3 separate regions of the Homo sapiens genome follow, and all the other regions are linked to region 2. Evidence: promoter capture Hi-C in 16 types of primary human blood cells and fetal thymus (Javierre and others, 2016). All regions are on one chromosome and are shown on one strand. Each heading gives the region's core, a stretch centred on a gene start or on the middle of the fragment in contact. The rest is flanking DNA. Distances are from core to core; before and after follow the strand shown.

Region 1 (3,289 bases), core at 614-3,113, 770 kb before region 2:
GGCAAGGAAAGAGGCAGGCAAGGGCCTGTACTGGGTTTTGGGTTCCCTGATCCAAGCCCAGTGTTCTTTCCCACTCATGATACAAGACTGGATCACCATGGCCATGAGCAGCAGTGGTATTTCTACTCCAGTCTGACTGATAAGACAACCCCAAGAGGATTAGTAAGTTGCCTAAGGCTGCTCTGCGACTAAGGCAGAGGCCAGAACCCTTTCCTCTGTACCACAGCCAGGGAGTGGCCAAGTTCAAGCCATGGAGACTCAATACAGACCCTGTGCTAGCAGATACCGCATAAAACCCATGTCCACTCCATCTCCATTCTGGGGAGGGGGGTCCCATGGAGACAGGCTAGTATGGCTGCTGGGTCCTGGTACATGGGAGAAACTTCCCTGGATCTTTTAGAGCTGAAATCCCCTGTGTCCTGGTCCCACGTGGCAGGGCCAGGAGATGGCTCTGGGGAGAGAAGTGTTGTGAAATTTGATGCTCTGCCCACCAGGGGGATCCTGTAGGACCACCTGCTATGGGGCTAATCTTTCCCTCACTTAATTCCCTTTGCATTCTGTCCATGGGAGCTATAATCTGTCCTTCAAATCCAAAAGAAATAACCAAAGGCTCCTAGTCTTTCCCTGGGAATCTCATGTGCTCCAGACCACAATGGGAGGCTCCTGGCTCCAACAGCCCCAAGCATCAGGCACTGACCCCATATATCCCCCTGGCCTGTGTTCAGAGGAGATCATCTGCCCAGAAAAGCTTCCACTGGACAAGGGGTCCAGGGAGGAAAGACAGCCTTTCTAGCCCCAGCCATGGCAACTTACCAGCTGGGGAAATCTCTTTATCCTCACTGCAGTCACTCTGGAATGGGCCTCTGAGCCTTTGGCTGTGTAACAGGGGATTGAGGTGGCGTGGCATGGGATGGCATGGCATGGTGTCATCAGCTTGTTGGGGCTGAGCTGTCAACATCATCAGACACTGGCACGTGGGTGTTAATAGCTTTGGCAATGATGTGCAAGCTTGCTTGCTCTCCCAGCTACGCAGTCCCACTATTTACCTTGATGGCACTCCCTGGGGAGAGGGTGGTGGTATAAGAGTAGGCAGGAGAAGATGAGGTGAGACTGGGACTGGCGTCTGTCCCCAGGGCCCTGATGCAGACTGGCCACTAGGCCTGGCTAGGTAGAGAGATCTGTGCTGACCTCCAGCCATAGGGACATCGAGCTGGACTGGGCACAGCCCTGAGTTTACCATCTCAGCTGGCTCCATCCTGAGGGACTGCCTACCACCTCTGCCTCTGGGCACCACTAGCTGACATTGCAGCCTCCTGTTCCTTCCCCTCCTCCCCCTCCCCTCCCCCTCCCCTCCCCCTCCTTCTCCTCCTTCTCCTCCTCCTTCTCGTTCTTCTTTTTGAGACAGGGTCTCATTCTGTCACCCAGGCTAGGGTGCAGTGGCTCAATCTTGGCTCACTTGGCTCACTGCAACCTCTGCCTCCTGGGTTCAATCCATCCTCCCACCTCAACCTCCAAAGTACCTGGGACCACAGGTGTGTGCTACCATGCCAGGCTAATTTTTGTATTTTTTATAGAGACGGGGTTTCACCATGTTGCCCAGACTGATCTCGAACTCCTGTGCTCAAACCATCCACCCACCTCAGCCTCCCAAAGTGTTAGGATTACAGGCATGAGCCGCCATGCCCTGTTCCTCTCTTCCTTCATGGATTCGGTAAGGGCTTTGTTTGTAACTGCAAGGTTAGCACCCAAAGAGAAAACTTGAGGAAACAGAATTTTCAAATTCCACATCTTCTCCATTCTAATCCCTGCATATTTTCATAGTACAATCTTTCTGAAACAGACTCTGTCTTATAATCCACAAAAATGTTTAGAAACTTGCCACACAGAGAGCGGGTGGGAAAGCCAGATTTTCAATCCAGTTTTTGTGCAGCAAAAACTTGTGTCTCTTAACCCAAGACACAACACCGCATCACTTTTGTTCAGTTGGGTATGGTCCTTAACTGACTCTCAGAGGCCTTCTAGGAGTATGTGGGAGGAGGAGCATCCAGGGACACGGCTCTCCAGAGAGTGGCTGGAATCTCAGCGTGGTCTCTGTGGGAAGCCTGGATGCCTCCTTCTACCTCCTACTCACTTTCTTCTTTGCTTCTGAGACAGAGCTGCTCAGACCAAGTTTCCAATTGTTCCTCTCTGTTGACCTTGAGATCCATGTTTCCTTAGTCATCCTGAGACTCTGAGTTCTGTGCACCTTAACATTTCTTACCTGAATTTGTGTACAATCCCTTCCGGGTCAGCATCCATCACCAGGGTGACCTTTCTAAAACACCTTCTGCTTACTTGTCCCTACCCTTCAATGTGGCTTCTGCTCCCACCACACTACTAGAATTGCTTGAAGGTCAGTAATTTGTTCAATCCAATAAACAATGAGGTCCTCAGACCTCATCTTACTTGCCATCTCAGCAGCATTTCACAGCCAACCTCGGCCCCTACTCTTGGACAACTTGCCCTTGGCCTCCAGGCTTCCAGTTTCCTGGTTTCTTCTCTCCAGCAGTTCCTTCTTGGCCTCCTTTGCCAGCTCCTTCTCTGCTGCTGAAGTTCGTCTGGAGCCTCCTCTTTCTACCTGTCTCTCAAGGTGACCACATACACCCCATTGTTTACTTAAAAATCTATGTTGACCATTCCCCCATTTCAATTTCCAGTCGGACCTCTCTTCTAAGCTTCAAACCCCATAAACTCATTCATGGACTAAGTCTCCACTTTGATGTTTCAGAGGCACCTCAAACTCAAGGAGTTAAGAACCAAACATATGATCTTCCCTGACTCATTTGTAGCCCCATCGGATATGACAAAAGTGGCTCATGAAACCACTCACTGTTCTCCATCTCCACTGCCCCCAGATGGGCCCAGGCATCTGTCCCTGCTCCCCTGAACAGCTGCCCAGCTGCTCCATGTCTACACACGCTTGTTCCAGTCTTTTCGTTTTCACACACAACAGCCTGAACAATCTTGTCAAAGGGCAAACCTGATGTCACACCCTTGTATAAAACCCTCACCAGCTTCCCACTGCCCTGCAGATCAAGTCCAGCCATTGTAGTGTCACTTACAAGGCCCTGTGCTCCCTCCTCTCTCCAGCTTCAAGTCCCACTTGGCCCATCTTCTCTGACCTCAGGCTCACTGAGGCTCCATCATATTCTTAAAAATGTCATCCTTTTTGCATCCTGGCAGCCCTAATGTGTGCTGTTCCCTCTGCCCAGAACTCTCAGACTGTGTCAGTACCCTTCCCACCTCTTGA
Region 2 (3,674 bases), core at 452-2,951:
CCTACTCACAATCTCAGCCACTATTTCCTACTGCTTATCCCAATAACAAGTGGCCTTTCCAAGCCTGCGTGATGCCACATCAGCCACACACCTCTCCTTATGATTCTGTTTGGCAAGTCATAAGCTGTTAGCCCCAGGGCAACACAGAGGCAGGAGGCAGGAGGGAAGGAGTGCAGCACATATGTGCGTGGGCAGGGCCCTGGAGCACGAACCAATGCGATGAGGACGCACAGCACTGGGAACCGGCAAAAATGAGCGAGACGGTTTTCAGGAGAGCAACAGCTGGCAGGGGAAACACCCAGAGAAGTAAAAATATCAGATTTTTAAAAACTGAAAATCTCCAAGCACCTGTAATGCTTCATGCTTACTTTCAGAAAAAAACAAAAACAAACAAACAACAAAGACGAAACTCACTTTTTAGAAAGAAAAGCCGGGTGGAAGAGCACTAAGCTGAGAGGCACTGGCTGGTTAGGGGTAAGAGCCGGGACGCTGCAGTTCGGGTCTGGGTCTGGATTCTGGCTTTTCCACACGCTGGCTCTGTGAACACTGCCAAGCTGATTCATCTTTTGTGTCTCAGTTTTGTCATCTATAATATGGGGATAATAACAGTGCCTAGCTTACGGAGCTGTGAGGCTTGAAGGAGCTAATATGCACATATACACGCTCTGTAAGGGCCGCCCCTTATCATTTAAGTACATGCCTGTTTGCCCTTGACGGGGCTGTGTAGCAGAGCGCCCAGCTGGACGAATCTCCCAGCCAGTTGGGGAGCCCCTCTGAGGGTCATTCCTGCGGATGTGGCCGTCGGGAGGACCAGCCCGTTTGCAGACCAAGCTTTTGCTTCCTCTCATCCCTCCTGAGGAAGACCCTGGGAAAGGAATGCTCTTCCTGCGGGCCCTTCCTCAGACACCAGGCAAACGGGTGAAGGTGCAGAGGTCGGCGGTGAGGAGGGGCCCCTGCGGTCTGCCAGGGTGAGGCTGACCTCCAGGGCTGCAGCTGCTCGGGGGGCCTTTGGCCGGGTTGCCCAGGAAGGCAATGAGGGCTCCCAGGCAGCTTACTGTGCGGGGCCGACCCCAGCAGAGGAGCAGGGCCTGGTCAGGGGCTGGAATGGGAGAAAACAGAGGGGCCCTTGGGGAGGAAAGGGCCCCAGGAGGGAGGCAGTAGGGTAAGTAGGGGGCTGTGAGGAGGCGGGGGCAGGAGGCTGTAGGGGAGGTAGGAGACTAAAGGCGGGGGGAGGGGGGCTGAGGAGAAAGAGGGCCTACAAGGAGGGGGAAAGGAGAGGTGGGATGTGGGGAAGAGGAGGAAGGAGGACTGAGGGCAGGGGGTGGGGACACGGAAGGGGTGTAGGAGGAAAGGGGGTGAAGGTGAGATAAAGGGGAGGGGAGGAAGGGAAGGGGGCAGGGAGGGAGCAGAGAGGGGTGGAAGGGGCAGGAGCCCAGGTATGTGGGGCGTGGGCAGGGGGAGGGAGGGGGGAGGTGAGGGAGTGTGGGAGAGGAGTGGATCCGGGAGGACCAGCCCAGGTGTCGGGGGAGCGGGTCGGGGTGGGGGGAGGTGGGGGCCGTAGGGGAGGGAAAGAGAGGAAGAGGGAAGGGGTGTGGGGAGGGGGGAGGGGGCGGAGGGAGGGTGCCCTGCTCTCGCCTCCTCCCGCCCCGGGCCGCCCCGGCCTCTGGGCCCCTCTGGCCGGGCGCCACCCACGCGCCTCCGATGCAGCGTCAGGCAGCCGCTGGGGAGGACGCGGCGGGAGCCTCAGATGCCACCTACTCCCCGGCCTCTCTCCCAGTTGATGCTTCTATTTTAGGCAGCACATTATTTCCTGCTGTGATTTTTTCAGCCTTCTAATTTGGGCTCTGAGGTAAGCCGTGACATCCGCCGCGCGCCCGCAGCCCCCTCCCGGCCCGGCGGCGCGATCCTGCCCGAGCCCCGCGCCCTCCGGCCGCGCCTGCGTCTTCACGGAGCCACTCGGCCAGGCCTGCCCCCCAAACAGGCTCCCGGGAGGAGGGCTTCTCCCCCGTGCAGGGTGAAAGAGTCCAGCACGAGGGATTTCTAGGCAAAGATTTAGAAAAAGTGACGGGGACAGGGATACATTGCACCATGGTGTCCCCGGTCCGGGCAGGGGACTGCAGATGCTTCCATATCGGAGGTTTAACACGTTTTTTTTCTGGACACGGGCCCCTTTGAGAATCTGATGACGGCCTTGCATCCTGTCCCCAGAGTGTCCAGAGCAAGCCCACGGCCCACACAGACACTGGGATTCTGCCTGTAGCTTCAGGCCCTCACCTCCTGACACTCTAGGGGCGCCAGGACCCCAGGCTAAAAGCCCAGCTCCGAGGTCGAATACTGTATCTGCCTGCTCCTGCCAGTCTCATCCCAAACCGACTCACTGCTCCCTACGTCTCGGTCTCCTCTCCCTCTATCGGCCTCTTTACTTTTGTTTGTTTGTTTGTTGTTTTTTGAGACAGAGTCTTGCTCTGTCGTCCAGTCTGGAGTGCAGTGGCGCAATCTCCGCTCACTGCAACCTCCGCCTCCCGGGTTCAAGCGATTCTCCTGCCTCAGCCTCCCGAGTGGCTGGGACTACAGGCCTGCGCCAACACACCCAGCTAATTTTTACATTTTTGGTACAGATGGGATTTCACCATATTGGCCAGGCTGGTCTCAAAACTCCTGACCTCAAGCTATCCGCCCTCCTCAGCCTCCCAAAGTGCTGGGATTACAGGCGTGAGCCAGCCTGCCCCAGCCCCGGCCTCATTACATTTAATCAATTTTAAAACTGTCTTTGTATGGGTAAGGATCTCACCCCCAAGTGGGCAGATAGAGGTCACATTGGTAGCTGGCCTGCTCTTCAGGTCTCTGGCCTAGTTCATTACCTGGGTCCTGCTGGCATCTGGTAGCGAAAGGACACTGCATTTGGATTCCAGGAGACTTGGGTTCCAATTACATACTTAGTAGTTTCATTCCCTTGGCCTCCCTGAGCCCCAACTTCATCTGTGCAATGGGGAATTGTAATAAAGCTTCCCTCACAAGACTAAGTGAGTCAGTGCACAGGGAGGCACCTTTCAAATGCACCTCCCTGTCAAAGGAGAAGGCCTAGTTTACTTTTTTTGAGTAACTCACACTTGTCTGTTGCCCCTCATGGTGGGCAGCATCCAATAAAGTTTTGTGGTCGTTTTTATTTATTTATTTATTTATATTTATTTTGTTTATTTATTTATTTATTTTGAGACCGAAGTCTCACTCTGTTGCCCAGGCTGGAGGGCAGTGGCTTGATCCCGGCTCACTGCAAGCTCCGCCTCCCGGGTCCATGCCATTCTCCTGCCTCAGGCTTTGGAGTAGCTGGGACTACAAGCGCCCGCCACCACGCCTGGCTAATTTTTGTATTTTTAGTAGAAAAACGGGGTTTCACTGTGTTAGCCAGGATGGTCTCGATCTCCTGACTTTGTGATCCACCCACCTCGGCCTCCCAAAGTGCTGGGATTACAGGCGTGAGCCACCGTGCCCGGCCTGTGGTCATTTTTTAAACTAAAGATGGGTAAACTATGACTGGGCACAGTGGCTCACGCCTGTAATCCCAGCACTTTGGGAGGCCAAGGCGGGTGGATCACTTGAGGTCAGGAGTTCGAGAACAGCCTGGCCAACATGGTGAAACCCCGTCTCTACTAAAAATACAAAAATTAGCCAGG
Region 3 (3,539 bases), core at 819-3,318, 530 kb before region 2:
GAAATACTGAACACATGGTACCAAGGAGAAAATATTCTGTGGGGAATAAACCTTCAAAAGCAACAGCAATAGCTACATTACTGAATGTACTGACAAACGAGTTGGCAGGAGCTGAGAGGTGAATGTTCTTTTATCTCTGACCATCATTGCAAGTGACAATTTCTTCTTGCTAGCAACCACCAGAATAGTCATCTTTGAGTTGCATGTGGAAAACATAGGTTATAATTGAGCAATGCCATGAAATATATTTTTCCCCTTATTCTGATATGATCTGACATCAACAGAAAGTAGAACCATGGCTAGGAGACTAAAGATTCAGGAAAAAAGACAGGCTATTATGTCACTTGGAGATGAAGGAACTGGTTGAAGCATTCATCTTAGTGTCTGCAATTGTCCTGCTGTGATGGAGTTGTCCACAGCCACTCAGGAGGCACGAGGCCGTCACCACCATCATTTGAGGTAAGGCCCAGGTCCCTCTTGAGCTGGGTTAGGATAATCACACCAGACAACCTTCCCAAGTCACAAGAGATATGAATAAATTAAGGAAGCAATCAAGATCTGCCGTTGGGTCATCAGGTTACAGAAAGAATCACTGGGACCAAGGTCGTAAGGTAAAGTGAATACAGCAAATAGGAAGTGAGATTTCACAAAGGAATTAAGCCACAGAATGCCAAACCAAAGCAAGGATATATAAGGTCAGAATCAAAAGTGGTGGCTGCAGTACCAGTGTTAGGCTCAGATTAGTAGGGCCATCGAAGACACTGAGCAAAGAGGAGATTGCCAGGAGGCCTTGATTGTGGGGCTTCCTCCTTACCTGGCCCCACACTGTAGGTTATGATGGTGACAAGGTGCCTGACACCTTGAAAAGTGGTGATTGTTGGGCAACACCTCAAGGCAGAGAGGCCCATCTCCTTAAAACTGTGGCCTGCGCTCGATCATCTCTATATGAATTTTACCATGATAAGGTTTTACTTAGACGTTTTCTTCTTTCTGCCACTATGGATGTTTTTTTGGTTTCTGCCCTTACTATCTATTGGTGTGTAATCAGATAGAAAAATGAACTTAAGAACTATTTTAACCAAAGCAAATCATAACGAAGAAGGTAAATCTGCTGCAGAAGAAAAATCCCTTAAAGTCAGTATCTTTACACTGTCTGATGCCTTGGCTAAATACAGCCAAAGTTATTCCTCCTGCAGTAGTTTATTAAGGCATAGGGTAAGTTCTAAAAGCCATGGGTTTGAGTGAAGTCAATTCAAACCCACTGCTTTTCTCTAACTCAAGCTGGGAAAGTTGGCTCCTTTGCCTTGGCCTGAAGACTGAACATTGTACGTACCAAATTACTGCAGAATGAAGGTCTCAGTTGACTTGCAACTTGAACCTGACTCCATGGGTCACTGGTTCTTACATAATCAGGAAATAAAAAGACTCTAAATTATCTATCAAGAGAAAGCTGGGTCGATGTTTACAGACTGATGGATTAATATGTGACAACCACCATTAGGTATGCCTACTACGCAGAAGAACATGAAGAAATGATGTTGGGGATACATTAAAACATTACCCCATCTTTAAGTTATGTATTACATTTTATCAAAGTTGTAGACTTTTCATTGAATAAGGATGATAACCAAATGATCACAGCAGGTATGTTTCCAATAATACCAAAAGTCTTGAGGCCTGATACTGGAAAGATAATTAGAAACAGAATCTGTTTAGGGTAAGGTTTCTCTAGCTTGGCAATACTGAGATTTTGCATTCAATAATTTTTTGTGTGTGTGTGTGAGGGGCTGTCATGTGCATTGTAGGATGTTTAGCTGCATCACTGACCTCTACCCATTAGATGCCAGTAGCAAATCCCCACCCCCTCAGTCATAACAATCAAAAATGTCTCCAGGCATTGCCAAACGTCCCCTGAGGTGCAAAATTGCTCCAGTGGTTGAGAACCACCGGCCTAGAGATATTTTCTCCTTAATATCCCACAATAAATATATATATACGCTACAGTAAAAGGAACCGAGACAGGACAGAAAAGGTTCTAGTACTGATTATTACATGTGGTTTAGGACATTTAAAAATGTATGCTGACATGCTGACAGCAAAAGTATACTCACTGTGTACAAGAAAACAAAAATCTTTCCACATCAGCAGCAGAGTGAGTTTTGTAAAGCCTTCTGCATCATATTCCACGACACCTCTAAGTAATAAAAACATACACACACAAACAAAAAAAACCCTCATAAAATTAAGGTATAAAAGCAATAAAACCAAGTAAAGAATATATTCGTGAAGTCAGGGTTATTGACTTTGAGATGGGTTTAAGGCAAGTGAGGATTAATGCAGGAAGGGCCTGGGGTTTGGAATGACAGTATCTAGGTTTAAGTCACAGCTTTGCCATTGACTATCTACTATGACCTCAGGCAAATCACTTAACCTTTGCAGCCTCAGTTTCCTTACCTGCAAAACAAGTATAAAAATATTTGCAAAATTCATTACAGGGTTGTGAAAAACAAATAAGATAAATCATAAAATACTATACAAATGTGAGTTATTACATTAATTATGAGTAGAAGGACATATTAAGAAATCAAGTCAGCAATGACACTACAATGCCAAATGTCAGCATACTACCTGTACAGTGATTGTTAAGTCTGACTTTCACTGGGCACTACATAGTAATATGCAATGACAGTATTACTAAATTTAGTATTATATATTACTTTTCTTCTTGAGCTGGGTTAGGGCAATCACACCAGACAACTGTGTCCCCTTTCACTGTGTTCCCCTGTCCTTCCCACTGGGCTTAAGGCAAAGTAGCAACACTAGATGGGTGGATGCTGGGTTCAGGAAGGGAGATGCATATTTCATGTGTCAAAAGAAAACATCCCCTGACCTCTGAATGGGCCAAGGCGCAATTCTGTAGCCTCAACTCATCCATTTCCCTCAAGAGCTGAGCGCCTGGAGGATGTCGCCATAATGTGACAATACTAACCACACTAAGGACAGATATAATTTTCTTTCTCATCCATACAAGGAGGACTCTGATGTCCTTAGAGATGCCTTATCCCTGACCAAACCAGGCCAATCAGACCACTGATATTGATGCCCGCCCAGTTTAAGTTGGAAGGAACAGTTATACCCCTTATAAAGGTAAAAGAACTAAGATACTGAAGGGTAAGTGATCTGCTAAAAAATGGTTGGTATATCATTCAGATCTTAAGTCGACAATTCTTTAGTTTATATTTCTATGAATTTATTTATTTTTTTTTTGAGACAGAGTCTCACCCTATTGCCCAAGCTGGAGTGCAGTGGTGCGATCTTGGCTCACTGCAACCTCTGCCTCCTAGGTTCAGGCAATTCTCCTGCCTCAGCCTTCCGAATAGCTGGGATTACAGGCACCTGCCACTATGCCCGGCTAATTTTTTTTTAATTTTTAAATTTTTTTGAGATGGAGTCTAGCTCTGTTGCCCAGGCTAGAGTATAGTGGCATGATCTCGGTTCACTGCAACCTCCGCCTCCCGGGTTCAAGAGATTCTCCTGCC

What was found. Contacts are between HindIII fragments. The CHiCAGO score rates a contact against its expected background, and 5 or more counts as called.
Region 1: a fragment that was not itself captured here is called in contact with the fragment with the promoter of LINC01460 in region 2 in 4 of 17 cell types (erythroblasts, M0 macrophages, M1 macrophages and 1 more); the score reaches 7.4 in erythroblasts.
Region 3: a contact is called between a fragment that was not itself captured here and the fragment with the promoter of LINC01460 in region 2, in 1 of 17 cell types (activated CD4 T cells). The highest score is 5.0, in activated CD4 T cells.

The regions. Positions count from the first base shown.
Region 1 is chr2:28,486,260-28,489,548 of GRCh38, reverse strand. No RefSeq gene overlaps it. Among named protein-coding and RNA genes, the nearest start is that of PLB1, 8.2 kb to the left of the region's middle. The HindIII fragment of the contact is 1,706 bases long and covers 1,011-2,716 here.
Region 2 is chr2:27,713,759-27,717,432 of GRCh38, reverse strand. It overlaps LINC01460 (long intergenic non-protein coding RNA 1460), which reads left to right and starts at 1,701. Exons shown (of 2, transcript NR_135200.1): 1 at 1,701-1,849. LOC105374378 (a long non-coding RNA gene) reads right to left here and starts at 1,310. Exons shown (of 3, transcript NR_160725.1): 1 at 701-1,310; 2 at 415-586. RefSeq lists enhancers at 383-896, 897-1,411 and a silencer at 1,605-2,014. The HindIII fragment of the contact is 2,174 bases long and covers 834-3,007 here.
Region 3 is chr2:28,243,435-28,246,973 of GRCh38, reverse strand. It overlaps BABAM2 (BRISC and BRCA1 A complex member 2), which reads right to left. Exons shown (of 12, transcript NM_199191.3): 10 at 2,112-2,194. Among named protein-coding and RNA genes, the nearest start is that of BABAM2-AS2, 65 kb to the left of the region's middle. The HindIII fragment of the contact is 4,949 bases long and covers 1-3,539 here.